Linked DNA regions of Homo sapiens: all the other regions are linked to region 3. The links are contacts of gene promoters, found by promoter capture Hi-C in human tissues and cell types (Jung and others, 2019). All regions are on one chromosome and are shown on one strand. The core of a region is centred on a gene start or on the middle of the fragment in contact, and the rest is flanking DNA. Distances in the headings are between cores, read along the strand shown. Region 1 has its middle 9.9 kb from the start of AICDA. Region 2 overlaps AICDA (activation induced cytidine deaminase). Region 3 holds the start of M6PR (mannose-6-phosphate receptor, cation dependent). Region 4 overlaps CLEC6A (C-type lectin domain containing 6A). Region 5 overlaps LOC124902872 (a long non-coding RNA gene). Region 6 has its middle 14 kb from the start of CLEC4D. Region 7 has its middle 6.8 kb from the start of LINC02367.

Region 1 (2,773 bases), core at 184-2,683, 330 kb after region 3:
CCTTCAACTTTGAGATGTCATGATTCAGTAATTTTTAGATTTGTCTTTTATAGCTATTTATTTTAATATCATCAGTCATTTAAGCATGTTGTCTTTTTTTTTTTTTTTTGGCAGAATCTCGCTCTGTCACCCAGGCTGGAGTGCCATGACACAATCTCGGCTCACTGCAACTTCTGCCTCCTGGGTTCAAAGGATTCTGCTGCCTCATCCTCCCGGGTAGTTGTGATTACAGGCATGCACCACCACACCCGGCTAATTTTTGTGTTTTTAGTAGAGACAAGGTTTCACCATGTTGGCCAGGCTGGTCTCAAACTCCTGACCTCAGGTAATCTGCCCGCCGGGGTCTCCCAAAGTGCTGGGATTATAGGCATGAGCCACCACTCCTGCCTTTAAGTATTATGTCTATTTTTAAAGCTTTTAACAACATTATAAACTGCTTGAAGAACTATAATGCACACCAGTATTCACCTTCGATGTTCCCCTTATGCTCTCTCATAATAGGCCTTTAATAAATATTAATCAGATGAATGAATTTCAGCTTTCAAAGGTAATCTTCATAAATTCGTCATAAAATCACTTTTTTAAATTGCCCCCAAAGGGGTAGAACATCAAAACAAACAGAATATTTGTTTCTCTCCAGGAACTTTATTTTCAAATGCTGAATATCTAAAACCGATTGATATATGTTAGAGAGAATCTTTTTTGCAGTCTATACACTGAAAAGATTTTCAAAACAGAAGGAGACATTATACAGGAATGTAGACTGTATTTTGTGTTGTGTTTATTAGGTTTTGCCAACACTATATCAAATATATTTTATAAAATAGAATAAACAAATATCCACAGATAATTCTGCCAACAGAGCCTCTTTTGATAAAGCAAGGAGCTCCAAGGAAGTACAGGTCCATGTTTCAATTAGATTTAGATTTAATACTTGCTAAGTCAACTGTCTACATTTTTGGGTGGAAGACAAAGTCTTTCTTGCATAAGCCATTTATTGAGTTTGCCTGACATATACCAATTCTAAATGATATAGTTATGTGGCGGCGGCAGGGGGATCTTTCTCTGTAGCTCTGATGAAGATTTCTAAATTGATATGGTCAAATAGATTAAGGTCTGTAGGATTGATTTTACCAGCTTGACAGTATTGCATGGGCTTTGGAGTAAGGCTGATGCTTTCAAATCTCAGTCCCAGCTTTTCTGCTTTCTAGCTGTTGGCTGAACTTGTTAGATAATGACTTTTTGTGTAGAGAATGGGATTACTCCCCAGTCAGACGCTGAGCAGGAAGAAAGAGGGCCCTTGTCAGGGAAGCTATTGGGCTTTAAAAAATAATTTCAGTTTCAGTAAGGATGTGAGTGTGTGTGTTTAAAGGAGGTGCCATTAAGAAATATGTGATAGGCTGGGCGTGCTGGCTCACGCCTTGTTATCCTAGCACTTTGAGAGGTCGAGGTGGGCAGATCACCTGAGGTCAAGAGTTTGAGACCAGGCTGGCCAACATGGTGAAACCCCGTCTCTACTGAAAATACAAAAAAATTGGCTGAGTGTGGTGGTTCGTGCCTGTAATCCCAGCATTTTGGGAGGCTGAGGTGGGTGGATCACTTGAGGTCAGAAGTTGGAGACCAGCCTGACTAACATGGTGAAACCCCATCATTACTAAAATGCAAAAATTAGCCTGGCTTGGTGGCGGGCGCCTGTAATCCCAGCTACTCAGGAGGTTGAGGCAGGAGAATTGCTTGAACCCGGGAGGCAGAGGTTGCAGTGAGCTGAGATCCCGCCATTGCACTCCAGCCTGGGTGACAGAGCAAGACTCTGTTTCAAAAAAAAAAAAAAAGAAAAGAAAAGAAAAAAAAGGAAAAAGAAATATGTGATAGATACAAAAATCCTCAATAAAGTAGTAACAAACCAAATTCAACAACACATCAGAAAGATTCTACACCATAACTAAGTGGGATTTATCCTTTGGAGTGGTTTAACACATACAAATCAATCAATGTGCTATGTCATATTAAAAACCACATGATCATGTCAAGAGATGCAGAAGCATTTGACAAACTTCAATACTCATTCATGGCAGAGAAAAAAAAAACGCATCAAAATAGGTATAGAAGGAAATTCCTTGGCACAATAACAGCCATTTATGAAAAGCACACAGCTAACATCAAAATTAATGGAAAAGCTGAAAACTTTTTCTCTAAGATCTTGTACAAGATGAGGATGCCCACTGTTGCCACTTCTATTCAACATAATGCTGGAAGTGCTAGCAAGAACAATCACACAAGAAAAATAAGAGGCATCCAAATTTGAGAGGAAGAAGTAAAATTATTTCTCTTTGTAGATGACATAATTCTGTATGTAGAAAACTAAGGAGTCCACACACAAAAAAACAATTAGAACTAATAAATTCAGTAAAGTTGCAGGATTAAAAAGCCAACATACAAAAAGTAGTTGCATTTATTTACAAGAACAAATATCTACCCGAAAAGGAAATCAAGAAACTAATTTCATTTATGATAGCATCAAAAAGAATACAATAGTTAAGAATAAACTTAACCAAGGAGGTAAGAGATATATACACTGAAACTTATAAAACATTGATGAAAGAAGTTGAAGAAGACGACAAATAAGTGGAAGGATATCCTGTGTTCATGGATTAGAAGAGTTAATATTGTTAAAATGTCTATATTGGCCTGGCACAGTGGCTCACGCCTATAATCGCAACACTTTGGGAGGCCAAGGCAGACAGATCATATGAGCCCAGGAGTTCGAGACCAG
Region 2 (2,700 bases), core at 30-2,529, 350 kb after region 3:
ATGAGAGCAGAAGGTAGATCCTAAAAAGCATGGTGAGAGGATCAAATGTTTTTATATCAACATCCTTTATTATTTGATTCATTTGAGTTAACAGTGGTGTTAGTGATAGATTTTTCTATTCTTTTCCCTTGACGTTTACTTTCAAGTAACACAAACTCTTCCATCAGGCCATGATCTATAGGACCTCCTAATGAGAGTATCTGGGTGATTGTGACCCCAAACCATCTCTCCAAAGCATTAATATCCAATCATGCGCTGTATGTTTTAATCAGCAGAAGCATGTTTTTATGTTTGTACAAAAGAAGATTGTTATGGGTGGGGATGGAGGTATAGACCATGCATGGTCACCTTCAAGCTACTTTAATAAAGGATCTTAAAATGGGCAGGAGGACTGTGAACAAGACACCCTAATAATGGGTTGATGTCTGAAGTAGCAAATCTTCTGGAAACGCAAACTCTTTTAAGGAAGTCCCTAATTTAGAAACACCCACAAACTTCACATATCATAATTAGCAAACAATTGGAAGGAAGTTGCTTGAATGTTGGGGAGAGGAAAATCTATTGGCTCTCGTGGGTCTCTTCATCTCAGAAATGCCAATCAGGTCAAGGTTTGCTACATTTTGTATGTGTGTGATGCTTCTCCCAAAGGTATATTAACTATATAAGAGAGTTGTGACAAAACAGAATGATAAAGCTGCGAACCGTGGCACACGCTCATAGTTCTAGCTGCTTGGGAGGTTGAGGAGGGAGGATGGCTTGAACACAGGTGTTCAAGGCCAGCCTGGGCAACATAACAAGATCCTGTCTCTCAAAAAAAAAAAAAAAAAAAAGAAAGAGAGAGGGCCGGGCGTGGTGGCTCACGCCTGTAATCCCAGCACTTTGGGAGGCCGAGCCGGGCGGATCACCTGTGGTCAGGAGTTTGAGACCAGCCTGGCCAACATGGCAAAACCCCGTCTGTACTCAAAATGCAAAAATTAGCCAGGCGTGGTAGCAGGCACCTGTAATCCCAGCTACTTGGGAGGCTGAGGCAGGAGAATCGCTTGAACCCAGGAGGTGGAGGTTGCAGTAAGCTGAGATCGTGCCGTTGCACTCCAGCCTGGGCGACAAGAGCAAGACTCTGTCTCAGAAAAAAAAAAAAAAAAGAGAGAGAGAGAGAAAGAGAACAATATTTGGGAGAGAAGGATGGGGAAGCATTGCAAGGAAATTGTGCTTTATCCAACAAAATGTAAGGAGCCAATAAGGGATCCCTATTTGTCTCTTTTGGTGTCTATTTGTCCCTAACAACTGTCTTTGACAGTGAGAAAAATATTCAGAATAACCATATCCCTGTGCCGTTATTACCTAGCAACCCTTGCAATGAAGATGAGCAGATCCACAGGAAAACTTGAATGCACAACTGTCTTATTTTAATCTTATTGTACATAAGTTTGTAAAAGAGTTAAAAATTGTTACTTCATGTATTCATTTATATTTTATATTATTTTGCGTCTAATGATTTTTTATTAACATGATTTCCTTTTCTGATATATTGAAATGGAGTCTCAAAGCTTCATAAATTTATAACTTTAGAAATGATTCTAATAACAACGTATGTAATTGTAACATTGCAGTAATGGTGCTACGAAGCCATTTCTCTTGATTTTTAGTAAACTTTTATGACAGCAAATTTGCTTCTGGCTCACTTTCAATCAGTTAAATAAATGATAAATAATTTTGGAAGCTGTGAAGATAAAATACCAAATAAAATAATATAAAAGTGATTTATATGAAGTTAAAATAAAAAATCAGTATGATGGAATAAACTTGAGAGTCCAGAAGTTATCCCATACATCTGTAATCAACTAATTTCTCACAAGGGTGTAAGGACCATTCAATGGAGAAAAAATGATCTTCTCAACAAATGGTGCTGAGCTAATTGGATATTACATGCAAAGGAATGAATTTGAGTCTCTACTACACACCATATATAAAAATTAATTAAAAATTCATCAAATACCTAAATATTAGAGACTAATTTATAAACCGTAGAGAGAAACATAGGTAAAAATGTTTATGGCTTTAGATTAGGCAACAGCTTCTTAATTATGACATCAAAAGCACAAGCAACCAAAGACAAAAATAAATAAGTTGGACTTCATCGAAATTAAAAATCTTTGTGCATCAAAGGACACTTAGTAAGAAAGTGAAAAGACAACCCACAGAAGTGGGAGAAAACACTTGCAAATCATATATCTGATAAGGGTTGTGATATTATGATATATATATAGGTTTTTGTCCATAGTTCCTGGCTTATAAACCCCCTCACCCTTGTTACAGTCATTTGTTATAAGGTTGGATGGTTTAGGCCTCAGAAGCAAAACTCTCTCTCTCACCTTCTCCAGCCCTCCTGTCTCTGGCACCTCATTCTTCCCTGAGGCCACATAGAAACTAGAATCTCTCTTCCACAAGGCGGTCAAAGAAACCAGCACCTCCTTTCCCCCAAACCAGTCATAAAACCTAAAAATATTACTCTAATTCCCCCTCCTTTCCATATAAGCACTGGCTATAAGGAAATAATCTGACTGGGCATGATGGTTACGCCTGTAATCCCAGCATTATGGGAGGCCGAGGCAGGCAGGTGCCCTGAGCCTTGGAGTTCAAGACCAGCCTGGGCAACACAGTGAGACCCCATCTCTAAAAAACTTAGCCAGGCATGGTAGC
Region 3 (2,700 bases), core at 110-2,609:
CTACCTAGCCTGAACTGAATGTATTACTAATAAACAAAGAAATGCAGAATGGCATACAGTCGGTAAAGCGTAGTGCTTGAGAGCATGGATTATGGAGACTATTTAAATACTGGCTCCATAACTTAATAGCTTGGGACCCACGGTGTTACTTAGCTTCTATCTGCTTTAATTTACTCATCTGTAAACTTGGGATAAGATACTTCCTCATAAGGTTGGTGTGAAGACCAAGTGAATTAACTATCGTTTAAAGCACTTACAAAAGTGCCGGGCACCACCGAGATATGCATCCGTTAGCTTTTATTATTATTAGACTCAAAACACTGTAGTAGTTCTAATGAGAGGGGTAAGAATCAAAAATCCAGGCACCTGCATAGAGCCAGAGAGGCACACATAGAAGCAACGTAAGAGTGGAAGCGGAATGAAAACATGCTAAAGCCAGGTACAAGCCACAAGCGAGGGTCCACAGGAAGAAATTGTTAATTCTGAAGAGAGTGAATGCACGAAGTTACAGGAAAAATAACATCTGAACAGAGTTTAAGAATGAGCAGGACTTCAACAAGTGGCTAGTAAGACATAAGGAACCTACAAAAGATCTTAGCAAAGGCGCAAAGATTACCATCGTATTGCTCGTTTCTTCCTACTTTGCAGAAGTAACCTCTGGCGAACAGAGGTGGTTGCAGAGCATGCTTATCAAGCAAAATACCACGAAGCAGTAAGGAACGACAGAGATAACAGTAACAATAATAATTCACCCCAAGGTACTCAACTGGAAAAAGGAAATACAGAGGAGAGGTGTCGTTAAGAAAGCCAGGACGCACATCACGGCCCCGTCGCTGCACTACTCTCGTCTAGGGGTCAACAGTGGAGTCGAGACTCGAAGCTTCCACGCGGCGGAACAGCGTCCCTCTCAGGCGGCGAACGGGCTAGGGAAGCGCCCGGAGGAGACCTAGCGTGAGAACTACAACTCCCGCGGAGCCCGAGGGCGAGCTGCCTGCGTAACTTCCGCTTCCGCCACCTGCCCCTCTCACCCTCTTCACTCGAACCCTACCCGGGAGCGGTCAGGCGCGTGACCCCGCGTGACCGGGGTGCGCGAGCCGAGAGGCCCTGGAAGCGGGACTCTGGGACCCCATTGAAAGAAAGGCAACCAGAAAAGGCGAAACGACAACCTCGATAGTGATTGGAGCTGATGGAACGAGGGCGGAGCTAAAGTCCCAGAATACTGGCCAATCAGAGTTTAAGATTATCAGGGAGCCCGGGAAGGGGAAAGGGGCGAAATGGTTCTATGGTCACATGCCGCGGGGTCTGGTGGGAGGAGCGGTTGCCCAGCGGCCTCTTGGCGCTTCCTGTTTCCGGTTCCCAGAGTGGGGCACAGCGAGGCGCTAGGGGGAACGCTGGCCTCTGAAACTAGCTCTGGGACCGGGGTCTGCGGCCGGCCCCTAGCTGGCCCCGTCTCCCATCCCCAGAAGGGTATTCACTGGGGATTCTGAGCTTTGGCTACTCCAGTTTCCCACGACACGTGAGTGTGAGGGGCGTGGAGGAGGAGGCGGGCTGGGTTGCGCTCACACTTAAGCGTCTGTGACAGGAGCCGGAATCGCATTCTCCCTTGACCATGGTTCTAGCCAAAGATCTGGCTGAGGAGCCCTAAGGGTAGAATGGAGGCGGAGGCATGAGAGCGGAGAGTCACGGAGTTCCGAAAGGTGTGAGGGAGAAAGGACTTCCAAGACCAGAGAGGGGATTTACGATATTTAGAAAGCAGGGAAAGGAAAATACCCCAAGTATGGAGTCCGTTGGAGGTGTTGGTGGATTTATTTGTAGGAGGAATTTTGGCCTGCATCACGGTGGGAGGTCAAGTGGCATCATTTGGAGAGGGTATGGCTACAAGCGCTTGGAAAGTCGGGACACTAGACAGAGCGAGAATTTCTGGCACCCTGGGAGAGCTTTGAGGGGGATGCGACTGTGGTGTGGATAAGAATGGCTGATGGACGGATTATCTTGTGTTCCTCGTTGTGGGGAGCTTCCGCTCTTGGGACATAGCCGCTACTTGTCTGAGGCTCCTTCTCTCTTGAGTTCTTTCAGCATTAGGCCTTTTAGCCAATTGAGGCTGCTTTTCTAAACATGTAGGCTGCTGGAGAAAAAGGGATAAGGACTGCTACATCAGAAAGGAGCCAGCGGGAAGACAGTAGAAATTCCACTGGTAAATGGCCATGGCTGTCTTAACAGATGGGGAAGTGAGTGCTACAGAGGCCCAGTGGTGTAAGCTGCTTCCCAGTTGCTGGCTTAGTCATTGGCCACCCTAATAAAGGATAATTTTTAGCATTGCCAAATAAAATAGATCTGTCGTTAGAGAATAAGAAAACTGAAAGATTTTTCAAGATCATAAAATCCTGCTCCTTATTTCCAAAGTATATAGACAAACTCTTGTACCTTGAGAATCTAATTGTAGCATATTAAAAGGGGGCTACTGGGCCCTTCCATTTCATTCTCTTCCTGATTGTTGCACCCCTATGTTTATAAGTTTTCCAGCAGTTATCTTTATGCCACGAATCGTCTAAATTGCCCCAGTAACTTCACACACATTTAATATCTGTGTAATGTACAGCAAGTAATTTAACAAGTAATTCTGTAAAGCATCAGTTTTCTCATCTGTGAAGTATGAAAAATTATACCTATTTTCTGGGTTGTGAAGATGAATGAACATAA
Region 4 (2,700 bases), core at 143-2,642, 470 kb after region 3:
CTTATTAAGAGCACATGTGGAATAAAAATGGTCAAAAATAGAAGATGGAAAAAAAAATTTTACAGCACTAACATAATGAAAGTTACTGTATCTATTTTAATATCAGGAGAAAAATTAAAGCCAAAGGCATTACTAAATTTAAAGAAAGTGACTCCACAATGATAAAAAAATTAATTTGCCATGTACAAGTAATAATTATAACATTGTATATACCTCATCATGGCTTAAATATACAGGTATCTCTTTCTATAAGAAGCTTTAATATCCAAATATTTGCTAAATTAATTTAAAAAATTGTTGTGCCAAATTTCTATTCAAGGGGGAAAAATGTGTTAGAATCTACATATGCATCACAGTTACAACTATTCAAGTTGCTCATGAGTCCAGGTGAGAAGATGTTCAGTACTACCAACTTCCCAATCCTTTCCCAATTGCTTATCCCTTTATAGGCTCCTACTGCCAGATTCTTCTGAGTATCAATCAATATAGGCTCAATTTGGATGATGGGATTCTTCTTTATATTATGGTATTTTCAGTGCAATGGAAAAGAATAACATAATTTGTATCATATATCATGCAACTGTTGCATATAGTCATGCCCACCAATAAGTTTAATATGCACTAAATAATTAGGTAATTTGTTTTAAAGTATGTTATGCAGAAATCCTTTGTGGATACAGATTAATGACCATTTTGGTAGTTGTTTGGAAAATTTGTTGAGGTTTTTATATAACATAAAAATAAACTGTCATTATCATTGCCATTTAAAATGATGGATTACAGGCTCTAGTTATCTCAAACTTTGCTAACCATCATATTTTCAGGAATAGATTAGATTTGGGTAACAAGAAATGCTTGCAAGCAAAGAAAGATTTGACAAAATTTAAATGAGAAATAGACAAATTCCCAATCAGCGAGAGATCTTAACACATATTTCTCAGAAATAAAACAAATAAACCAAGAATACAGGATATAGCAGTATCGAACACCCTGCTTGCCAAACTTGATTGAATCAACATATATAAAATGCCAAATCCCTAACTGCAGAATAAAATTTATTTCCAGGTTACATTAATAGCCAACACCAAGTTGCCAGCCATGTGAGTGAGCCATCTAGAAAACATGTCTTTCAACTCTTGTCAGGCCTTCAGATGATTGTAGTTCCAACTACCATCTTGACCAAAAAGATTTCTTTATGGTATATTGAGGAAGGAAAGTCATAATTTTCAAAAGATACTGCCTTATAAATCTTCTAACAAACAAAATAGTACAGTCTCTGAAACAATAAATATTTGTGTAATGAAGTGTGAAGAAAGAAAAAAATGAATAACAAGTGAAAGAATGGAACAAAGAGAGGAAGGGTGCATTCTATCATTAATGGAAAAGAGGAAACGAGAAGATTGATTAAAGGGAAACAGGTATCTTTCCATTTCTGTGAACCTCTATAACATAAGGATTATGTGTAAATTCAGGAAGAAATTATCATTTCATGATAGGGTTCAATTTTAAAGACGTCAGGGAAAAAATTACGTCAGTAATTCTTCTCTTCTTTCCAATTAAGCTTCTACTCATAGGTAAATCTTATTCATCTCACATATTGAATTCCTTCTAGTTTCACAGATAACATCATTCCAGCCCCATCCTGTAGGTTTCCAGAAGACTATTGAAGCACATTGCTCTGCAGAATGATTGGGCTCACCTAGGTGCCAAAATCTAAAGGAAAACAAAAAGGTAGTACACATCTTCAAAGAATGCATGGTGAATGATTAGAAAGTATAAAAGTCTGGGGTGAACAAAGTGGGATTTAGGAAGAGAGAACATTCCAATGATTGTTCCTTCTTCTCATACTACTCTCCTCAAATCCTCAAGTATGGACACATACTTTTACACTTGCTCCTTTAACATTCTGCTGGCAAAATTTTATGAGATGGTTTATTCCTAGATCTTTCCGCTGCAATCATCTTCCTCTTTACAGAGCCTTTATGCTGGCGGGGTTATTAAATAATTTCCTTCTTACTGACATGAAATAAAGAGGCTATCTCCTTACATCTATGTATTCTTATCACCTTCCTAAGCTTCTTTATTCTCATGGATCTGCCTTAAGTGAATCTTAGGATGCCTGAATCTGGATGTAAAAGTTACCCTGCCTCCAGGGAATACGTTCTGGGTAAAGACTGGGAGGTTGGACATAACTTTTGGAATTACAAGACCTGGTTTTGATACTCACTCATTTTGATCATGGGGAAGTAATTCAATCTCCCCAGGTATTAGATTCCTCATCTTTAAAAATGGGAATTATAATAAGGTCCCTAACTAACTCACAAGATTTTGGAAGAATCAAATAAGATAATGTATAACTGAATTCTATTTTAAAGCCACAAGTAAATAGTATTATTATGTAATTTTTCTACTAAAATTGTACATAGTTCTGACCCAGATATTTTAAGTTTTATTAATTAGAGATCAGTTTAAGTGTCTACTTGTGTTTAGAAACAGCAAAATATAATAGTTTAGAGCACCATCTCTGGAATCAGATAGACATGGAGTTGACATCCAGTTTCTCATCTTATTAGTTTATTGATTTGGGGCAAGTTATTTAATTTTTTATCTGTAAAATTAGTTCATAAAAAGAGAAGTTTTCATGAAGTTTAAGTGAGATAATGCATATCCTTAGTAATGCTTAATAATTGTTAGATCCTG
Region 5 (2,700 bases), core at 182-2,681, 390 kb after region 3:
CTGTGCTCTGAAGTCAGTTACTTTCCTCTGTGTGGTTAAGGCAGCAATGCCAACTCGATAGGGAATTAGGTTTATTTGTGCCACTTTGTTTTCAGTTTTAATGACTGTATTTACATATACATGCATACACATTCCTTTCCCCGCTGCTTTGTATTCCTTTCCCCAGTACAAAAGATGGCATACTGTGTGCAATTTCTGCACCTTGCTTTCTTCACTTCACCCTGTGTCCTGGAGTTCACACCCTACTTTACAGAGCTTCCGCATTCTCTTGTATATCTGCATAATAATCCATTGTGTTGCTCTGCCTCATCAGTCCTGAATTTGATGAATATTCAGATGGTGCTCCAGTTTGACTTTTGAAAATAATGGTGCAAATAACCATGTGCATCTGCCATTTCATATTTTTGCAAGCATATCTTTGTTTTGTTTTTGTTTCTGTTTGATACAGAGTCTTGCTCTGTCGCCCAGGCTGGAGTGCAGTGGCATTTTGTATCTTAAAGGTATTTTCTGACTTTCTTGTACCTGGAAGTCTACTTCTCTAGTAAGATTAGATAATTTTTTCTGAATTATTCTTTTAAATATGCTTTCCAGGTTGCTTATCTTTTCTTCTCTTCCAAGAATGCCTGTAAGTCATAGGTTTGGTCACTTTACATAATCCCATATTTCTTGAATTTTCATTTTTTAAAAATTCTTTTTTTCTTTATTTTTATTTGACTGAGTTAATTTGAAAGAGCAGTCTTCAGGCTCTGAAATTCCTTCTTCTGCTTGACCTAATCTATTATTAAAGCTTTCAAATATATTTTGAAAATCTTTAAGTGAATTTTTCATTTTTAGAACTTCTGTTTTTTAGATATCTATCTCTTCATCTCCTGGATTGCTTTCATGGTTTCTTTGTGTTGGTTTTCAAGCTTCTCTTGGATCTCATTGAGCTTCCTTGCAATCCATACTTTGTATTTTTCATCTGTCATTTCTGAGTGTTCATCTTGGTTAAGGTCTATTGATCCTTAGGTGGTGTCACAGCATTCAGATTTTTCATGGTGCAATAATCCTTACTCTGGTTTCTTCTCATTTGGGGAAGCTGACACTTCTTATTTTTAAATTTATTTTCATTTTGATGGGTTTTTTTCCCACTATTATTCCCCTTCCCCTGGGGGCGTGACTGTGGAAATGTTGGGTAGGGTCTTTTGGTTTTGCTTCTATAGATAGCCAGGTGCACTTTACTCTGCAGGTTTTACATTGAGCTGTGCAGTTTGACCTCCAGGCCAGTAGGCGGTGCCACCAGCCCATTTACGAGAGGGTTAATTGCGGTCACTCTGCAGACCTCTTTCTAATAATGGCCATTGTTGTTATCTCTCCCCTGCCCCTGACGTGGCTCTCTCAAAATCCTATTTGGGTAGAACAGTGACCTTTAAAGGGAGAGAAATTGCAAAGAGCCCATGAATTAGTTGAGGAGCAATTAAAAGCCGGCCATACAGAACCGTCAAACAACCCTTGGAATTCGCCCATTTTCGTCATCCCCAAAAAGTCTGGTAAATGGAGACTTTTGCATGCCTTGCGTGCTATCAATGCTAATTTGCAACCTATGGGGCCCCTTCAGTAGGGGCTCCCCTCCCCTGCAGCGATTCCTTGAGATTGGCCTATAATCGTTATTCACTTAAAAGACTGTTTTTATACTATTCCCCTTGCAGAACAGGACAGAGAAAAATTTGTGTTTACAATACCAGCTATCAATAATGAAAGGCCAGCTCACCGATTTCATTGGAAAGTGCTACCCCAAGGAATGCTGAGCAGTCCTACCATGTGTCAGTATCATGTAAATCAGGCTTTGCTCCCCAGTAGAAAAGAATTTCCTAATTGCAAGATTATTCATTTTATGGATGATATTTTACTAGCAGCCCCAACAGAGCCAGTACTTTTAAAGTTACGTGCCTCTGTCATAAGGAATACACAGTTAAGAGGTTTAATCGTAGCACCTGAAAAAGTACAAATTTCCTCTCCTTGGAAATACCTTGAGTATATACTAACTACCCGGTCAGTAAGACCCCAAAATGTTAAATTAAATACTGGCAACTTACATACCTTGAATGATTATCAGAAATGACTAGGTGATATTAACTGGCTTCGCCCAACCTTGGGCATAACTACTGATAAGTTACAGAACCTGTTGTCTATCTTAAAAGACAATGCTGCCCTAGACTCTCTAGGTATTTAACTCCTGCAGCACAAAGGGAAATTGAAGAGATAGAGCAAGCTATTTCTTAGAGGCAACTAGATTGCATTGATCCATGGTATTCAGTTCAATTATTTGTTTTTCCCACTAAACACACCTCTACAGGGCTAATAGGACAGATGACCCCAGGGCTGTCCTAGGATGGGTTTTTTGCTCACATACTGGGACTAAAACAGTCTCTCCCTATATCCAGTTAGTTAGTAAAGTCATCTATTTAGGCTGCAGACAAGGCAATCTATTACTAGGTTATGACCCTAATATCATCAGAATTCCTTTAAGTAAAAAGCAATTTGAAGCAGTATTGCCCTTATCTATGGACCTGCAAATAGCACTCTCTGATTACACAGGCCGTATAAAGCACGCCCTTCCTGCTGACAAACTCCTTCAGTTCTTATCTCGTACTTCTGTGCTTTCGCCTACAAAAATAGTTCAATCCCCCATACCTAATGCTTTAACACTGTTTATTGATG
Region 6 (2,728 bases), core at 221-2,720, 450 kb after region 3:
ATTTTAACTTTTATTTTAAGTTCAGGGATACATGTGCAGGTTTGTTATATAAGCAAACTGGGTGTCACTGGGGTTTGGTGTACAGATTATTTCATCACTCAGGTAATAAGCATACTGCCCAATAAGTAGTATTTGATCCTCTCCATCCTCCCACCTTCCACCCTCAAGTAGGCCCTGGCGTCTGTCATTCCCTTCTTTGTGTCCGTGTGTCCTCAATGGAACACATGTTCTAAAACTGTAAAGAACTGCGTAAATAAGACACTATCATCTTTGTTAATGAAGATCCTTTAAACTTTACTCTTCTACATCCTCAGTTTGAAGATCAGTGATTATACTGGATGCTCATGCCCTTACAACCAACTTCTGCTACATTACATAAGGCTCCCCAACTATACTTATAGCATTTTTTAGTTTCCTTCTGTTCTTCACTGTCAGGCCATTAGTGTCACTTTTTGTCATTCTCAAGAAGAATCCACATGTCCACCTCTTGCAGTCAGCAGTTGATACCTCCTAATGCAATGGTTGTTAACAATTTCAGTCAACACGCTCTTTGTGAGTATTGCTCCTTTTATCATTCTTCCTCCAAAAAAATTAAACATACATTGATTTTGTGGGCATTTTATCAAATCTGGGAGAATTCCATAACAACTCTGCATGGCCCTTGTCAGAATTAATTTAACTAGAAGATGGTCCTCTTTTTCTTTATCTGTCTTTTTTTACAACTCCAAAATAGGATGACAAATAAATAAAATGTTTCATTTTTTAAAGCTTATAATTTAGAGGAGAAACAAGATGAATTTAACTGCAGAGGAAGAAGGGAGAAGTTGCCCTCCTGTGGCTGCTACAGGTAAAACGACATTCAAGCTTCCCTCTGCACCACTTCTTTTGCAGGTTAAAATAAAGGAATCTCCTCTGAATAAGCCAGAATTGAAACACAAGACCCACAGAGAAGAAAACGTCACGTTAGGGTACAGAATACAAGTTCTAACAAGCTCCCAAAAATGGAGAGATCTACCCGAAACCCATGTTGAACAATGGGACAATCAGTGGTGATCCTGATACACTGCAGATTAAAAGCCCTCCTTCCTTTGTCCTGTCCTCCTGGACAACACATAACCTTCCTGGATTCTCATGCAATTGCAATGAGGAGAAAAGAGCTCCAAAATAACTGAGATTGAACTTCCTATGAGGCTGGCATAACAGGATATTAGAACCAGATTTCCTTGCACACTCAGGTGTGTTGACAGTTATACCCAACACAACAAAGAGAAAGGCATAGTGTACAAGAAACAGTAGATGTAAACCAAACGAGCCGGGAAGGGAAGTCCTTGAATAACAACCATGAACAGGACTAAAGGATAGTGAGTCTAGTGTGGAGTAGCAGAAGGAGGATGCTGAGAAGAACAGATCAAAGCACAATGCTGTATAATAGAAAGATTGGGAGGATTGAAGATCAAGGGTATAACAGATAATTCAAGGAAAGGTGACTAGCAATATCGGAAAAAAATTAAAGTTGTACAAGAAAGGAGGATTTAAATAGGAATCAAATTGAAGTGTGGCTTGAGTTGAAATAATAGATGGAGTCTAAGTAAATAGAGGCCATGTGATCTGAGTGATGGAAGCAATCTCCTCTGGATAAATCAGAATTGAAACACAGTACCCACAGAGAAGAAAACATAATGTTAGCCCATATCTTGGCCCAAAAGAAATGTGATTATGTAAAAATTTATTGATTAGAGTTAGCCTTTGGACAAAGCACGGACATTCGGCCATGGTGTAGTATAGAATGTAAATGTCAACAACCTTGACAAGGTACAATTTAAAATGTGGCTGAAGTAAGAAGGAAAGGGATGAAGGAATATGAGGGGAGTATGGGAACAACTGTTCTCATTTTAATGAGATGAAACAAAAAATAGATGGCCAAGGATACTATTTAGACTTACAAAAGTAACCAACAAATTAATGAAAAGTAATAATATCATTACTTAATTATCAAAAGTCAAAGTAGAAAATGTAAAAATGAAAAGGAAAGTGGAAAAGAATTAGAGGAGCAGGGAGTACTGGATTGCAATTTGCAGAAATAGAAATATGAGTTTTATTTAGAATCATGGAAAAAATCACTAGAAGAACTTAAAAAAAAAAAGCTGACCAGGCATGGTGGCTCACACTTGTAATCTCAGCATTTTGGGAGGCTGAGGCGGGCAGATCATGAGGTCAAGAGATCAAGACCATGCTGACCAACATGGTAAAACCCCGTCTGCACTAAAAACACAAAAATTAGCTGGGCATGGTGGTGCTTGCCTGTAGTCCCAGCTACTCAGGGGGCTGAGGCAGGAGAATCACTTGAACCCAGGAGGCAGAGGTTGCAGTGAGCCAAGATCAAGCCACTGCACTCCAGCCTGGTGACAGAGCGAGACTCCGTCTCAAAATTTAATTAAAAAAAAGCTTAAATAACTTGCATCTGCACAGTAGTGCCAGGAAAGATTGGTTGCTTTTCATAATAAACTCTTTGGAACAATTTGAATTATCACCACGTGCATATTTTATTTTGGTGTTAATTTTTAAAATTTATTATTGACCTGTATGATGTCAGAGTTTGCATTCTTTTTATTATTTCATGCTGCCCAAACTGGTGATATAGGAATATACATTATTGCAAGTAATTAAAGCATTACAACGGCAACAACGAATCCCCCTGAGTGTATCAGAGCACAGGAATAAGAATGGG
Region 7 (2,700 bases), core at 1-2,500, 410 kb before region 3:
AGGCTGATTGTCCCCAATCCTCCTGATTCCAGGCAGAGGGAACTTTAAAGTGAGCAGTTCTCAGGAACCACACAGAGACAAAGTTGAGGGGAAAATCCACCCTTAGGTATGAAAACAGTGACCTGGGGCAAAGCTCATTCCAATGAATGCTAGTCTGAGGGGAACTCCTGAGCACTGTGACCTCCAAGACCAGCTTGAGGACAGACTTCCCGGGCCCCTATCAACTACTGAATTTTCCACTTAGAGACAACGCTTAGAACATTCGACCACCAGATAGACATAGGAGCATTTCTCAGAAGGCTAGACAGCAGTTTCACCGTGGAGCGGGGCAAATCTGATCAGATCACCAGGAAAAGTCGCACAGCACCTCATTCCCAGAACAGAGCACACCTGAAGCGGAGGGGCCTCAAGGAAATATCAGCCTCCATGGGGCCTCAAGGAAATATCAGCCTCCATTCAGCCCGAGCTGCCTTCCAGCTGTGGGCCACCCGGCACCTCAGACAGAGGGAGACACCCTGTATGTCTCAGCTGTGTCCACCCTAACTGAGGCGGGGGTTCTTGTCCAAGGGGGAGGGCTTCAGCTGACTCAGGGAACCTCTATTTCTGCCAATCCTCCTAAGCTAAAAAACCACCAAGAACTCACCTGTAGCTGAACCAAAATGGGTTTATTGACTTGTTGCACAAAGGAAGAATGTCCAGCAGTAAAGAGGGCCTTCAAAAGAACTTGCTATAGATGCGGGCTCGTGGCTGGTGAGTCTCAGGAGGGCTTAGGAAGCAAGGCCTTTCTCTGGGTTGGATATCGTGCATAAAGGGACCACATGGCACAGGATTCCATTCTATGCAAAAGTGCAGAACAGGCAAATCCAGAGAGACAGAAGGTAGGTTTGTGGTTGCTGGGGGCTAGGGGAAAGAAGTGTGGAGACTGACCATGCGTATGAGGTTTCTTTGTGGAGGTGATGAAAATGTTTAGAATTAGATAGTAGTGATGGACGCACAATTTTGTGAATATATATGAAAACCACTTTAAAAGGGTGATTTTTATGTTAGGTGAATGATATCTCAATTTTTAAAAAGTGAAAATAAAAAGAGGGGCCTCAAGATTTGGTGAGCTGATAGACTGATAGCAAGAGAGGATACTAAGGAAAGACACTAAGGAACACATATTCACAAAGCAGAACCGCCCAGAGCAGCAGGCTGTCAGCCTTTATGCCAGAGCCTCTGTTGGCTTCTGTCAGTGCAACCCCGCAGACACACACAGCATCGCCATGGGCTGGCCGAGGTGCCGAGGAGCACACAGAGGACTGAGACATGGTCCCTGCACTCTGGGGGAAATGACATCTCAACACAATAATGGTGTTCATCATCAGGACCCCAAGTCATGATGAAAAGGTTAAATTATTCTCAAAATGCTCAATTGTAAGAAAGCAGAGGAGTGGATCGTAAGGAATAAATGTATGAAAAAAATTTCAAAATTGCCAACCTTTTCAAGAAATATTGAAACCTCTGGTGCAGGAAGGTAATCTGTGTGGAGTGGCAGCCAGGGAATGGGATGCTGTGTGTGTGTGGAGAGGCAAACATCCCCATAGTCTTCAGGATCCCCCGAGAGGGGCCGAGTCAGAGGCCGTCAAAGCCTCCAGTCCCCTGGGCATCCAGGGCCTCATGGCAACTGTACCAGTTGTTCTCACTTTTGTTATTCTTCCATAGAACTCAACGTGCCTCTCACGCAGGGACTCAGGATGGTGCTGAGTCCAGGTGGAGGGAAGGGGTCGGATGGGGGGCTGGGTGGGGGACATGGTGGGGGCTCTGTTGGAACCTGCCACCCTTCTGGCTCTCTACCGTGTTTTTCTTAGTTAGTGGGAGGTCTGTGAGCTCCATACCTCCAGGGCCTAGCTGTGAAGCTGTTGCTGGTGTGGATCTGTCCAATGGAGTTTGCTGGGTGGGGGAAGGTGTGAGGGAACCTCCATCTTGGAACGGCATCTCCAGAATGCAGGAGTGAGGCTGGCACACAGCACGGCCTCTGTGGACAGGGGGTCCAGGGAGGTTGGGGAGGGGCCTCAGGGATGGAGGGACAGAACTGGGGCCTCCCATTCTATCCACATCAGCCTGGTGAGTTCAGATCATCTCTTTAGCACCTTATCACCACTTCCACACTCAGGTGATTTCAAGGAACCTTAGGTCCCCAATTGCCACAAGCTTTGGGGCACAGCTCCTGCCTTGTAAAATAAATATTTTGGAGATTTTAAAGATGTAAATTCAAACTGGCTTTTGGAAAAGACAGGTTTTAAGGGATGGTTCCCATTCTAATGTCGGGGCTTTCCATCAGGCCACCCTGGGCAGAACCCGGGGGCGAAAAGAGAGAAATGAACAAAGCCTCCAAAAAATATGGGACTATGTGAAAAGACCAAATCTACAATTGACTGGTGTACCTGAAAGTGACAAGGAGAGTGGAACCAAGCTAGAAAACACTCTTCAGGATATTATCCAGGAGAATTTCCCCAACCTAGCAAGGCAGGCCAACATTCAAATTAAGGAAATACAGAGACCACCACAAAGATACTCCTCGAGAAGAGCAACCCCAAGACACATAATTGTCAGACTCACCAGGGTTCAAATAAAGGAAAAAATGGTAAGGGCAGCCAGAGAGAAAGGTTGGGTTACCCACAAAGGGGAGCCCATCAGACTAACAGCAGATCTCTCAGC

The links. The method cuts DNA at HindIII sites, captures the fragments that hold promoters and counts their contacts. A contact is called where the count stands out against the background at its distance.
Region 1: a contact is called between a fragment that was not itself captured here and the fragment with the promoter of M6PR in region 3, in 1 of the 25 tissues and cell types used here (spleen).
Region 2: a fragment that was not itself captured here is called in contact with the fragment with the promoter of M6PR in region 3 in 1 of the 25 tissues and cell types used here (lymphoblastoid cells).
Region 4: a contact is called between a fragment that was not itself captured here and the fragment with the promoter of M6PR in region 3, in 2 of the 25 tissues and cell types used here (lymphoblastoid cells and spleen).
Region 5: a fragment that was not itself captured here is called in contact with the fragment with the promoter of M6PR in region 3 in 1 of the 25 tissues and cell types used here (lymphoblastoid cells).
Region 6: a contact is called between a fragment that was not itself captured here and the fragment with the promoter of M6PR in region 3, in 2 of the 25 tissues and cell types used here (lymphoblastoid cells and spleen).
Region 7: a fragment that was not itself captured here is called in contact with the fragment with the promoter of M6PR in region 3 in 1 of the 25 tissues and cell types used here (heart left ventricle).

The regions. Positions count from the first base shown.
Region 1 is chr12:8,621,360-8,624,132 of GRCh38, reverse strand. No RefSeq gene overlaps it. Among named protein-coding and RNA genes, the nearest start is that of AICDA, 9.9 kb to the right of the region's middle. The HindIII fragment of the contact is 6,629 bases long and covers 1-2,773 here.
Region 2 is chr12:8,601,272-8,603,971 of GRCh38, reverse strand. AICDA (activation induced cytidine deaminase) reads left to right here. Exons shown (of 5, transcript NM_020661.4): 5 at 1-1,802. Among named protein-coding and RNA genes, the nearest start is that of AICDA, 10 kb to the left of the region's middle. The HindIII fragment of the contact is 7,401 bases long and covers 1-2,700 here.
Region 3 is chr12:8,948,304-8,951,003 of GRCh38, reverse strand. M6PR (mannose-6-phosphate receptor, cation dependent) reads left to right here and starts at 1,359. Exons shown (of 7, transcript NM_002355.4): 1 at 1,359-1,516. It also overlaps a transcript of KLRG1 not described here. RefSeq lists enhancers at 657-786, 285-1,189, 1,190-2,095 and a silencer at 765-979. The HindIII fragment of the contact is 13,158 bases long and covers 1-2,700 here.
Region 4 is chr12:8,476,333-8,479,032 of GRCh38, reverse strand. CLEC6A (C-type lectin domain containing 6A) reads right to left here. Exons shown (of 6, transcript NM_001007033.2): 6 at 703-1,713. The coding sequence ends at 1,569. Among named protein-coding and RNA genes, the nearest start is that of CLEC6A, 22 kb to the right of the region's middle. The HindIII fragment of the contact is 3,557 bases long and covers 1-2,700 here.
Region 5 is chr12:8,561,077-8,563,776 of GRCh38, reverse strand. All of the region lies in intron 2 of LOC124902872 (a long non-coding RNA gene), which reads left to right. Among named protein-coding and RNA genes, the nearest start is that of CLEC4E, 22 kb to the right of the region's middle. RefSeq lists an enhancer at 1-395. The HindIII fragment of the contact is 4,770 bases long and covers 1-2,700 here.
Region 6 is chr12:8,497,936-8,500,663 of GRCh38, reverse strand. No RefSeq gene overlaps it. Among named protein-coding and RNA genes, the nearest start is that of CLEC4D, 14 kb to the left of the region's middle. The HindIII fragment of the contact is 6,261 bases long and covers 1-2,728 here.
Region 7 is chr12:9,359,350-9,362,049 of GRCh38, reverse strand. No RefSeq gene overlaps it. Among named protein-coding and RNA genes, the nearest start is that of LINC02367, 6.8 kb to the left of the region's middle. The HindIII fragment of the contact is 4,916 bases long and covers 1-2,700 here.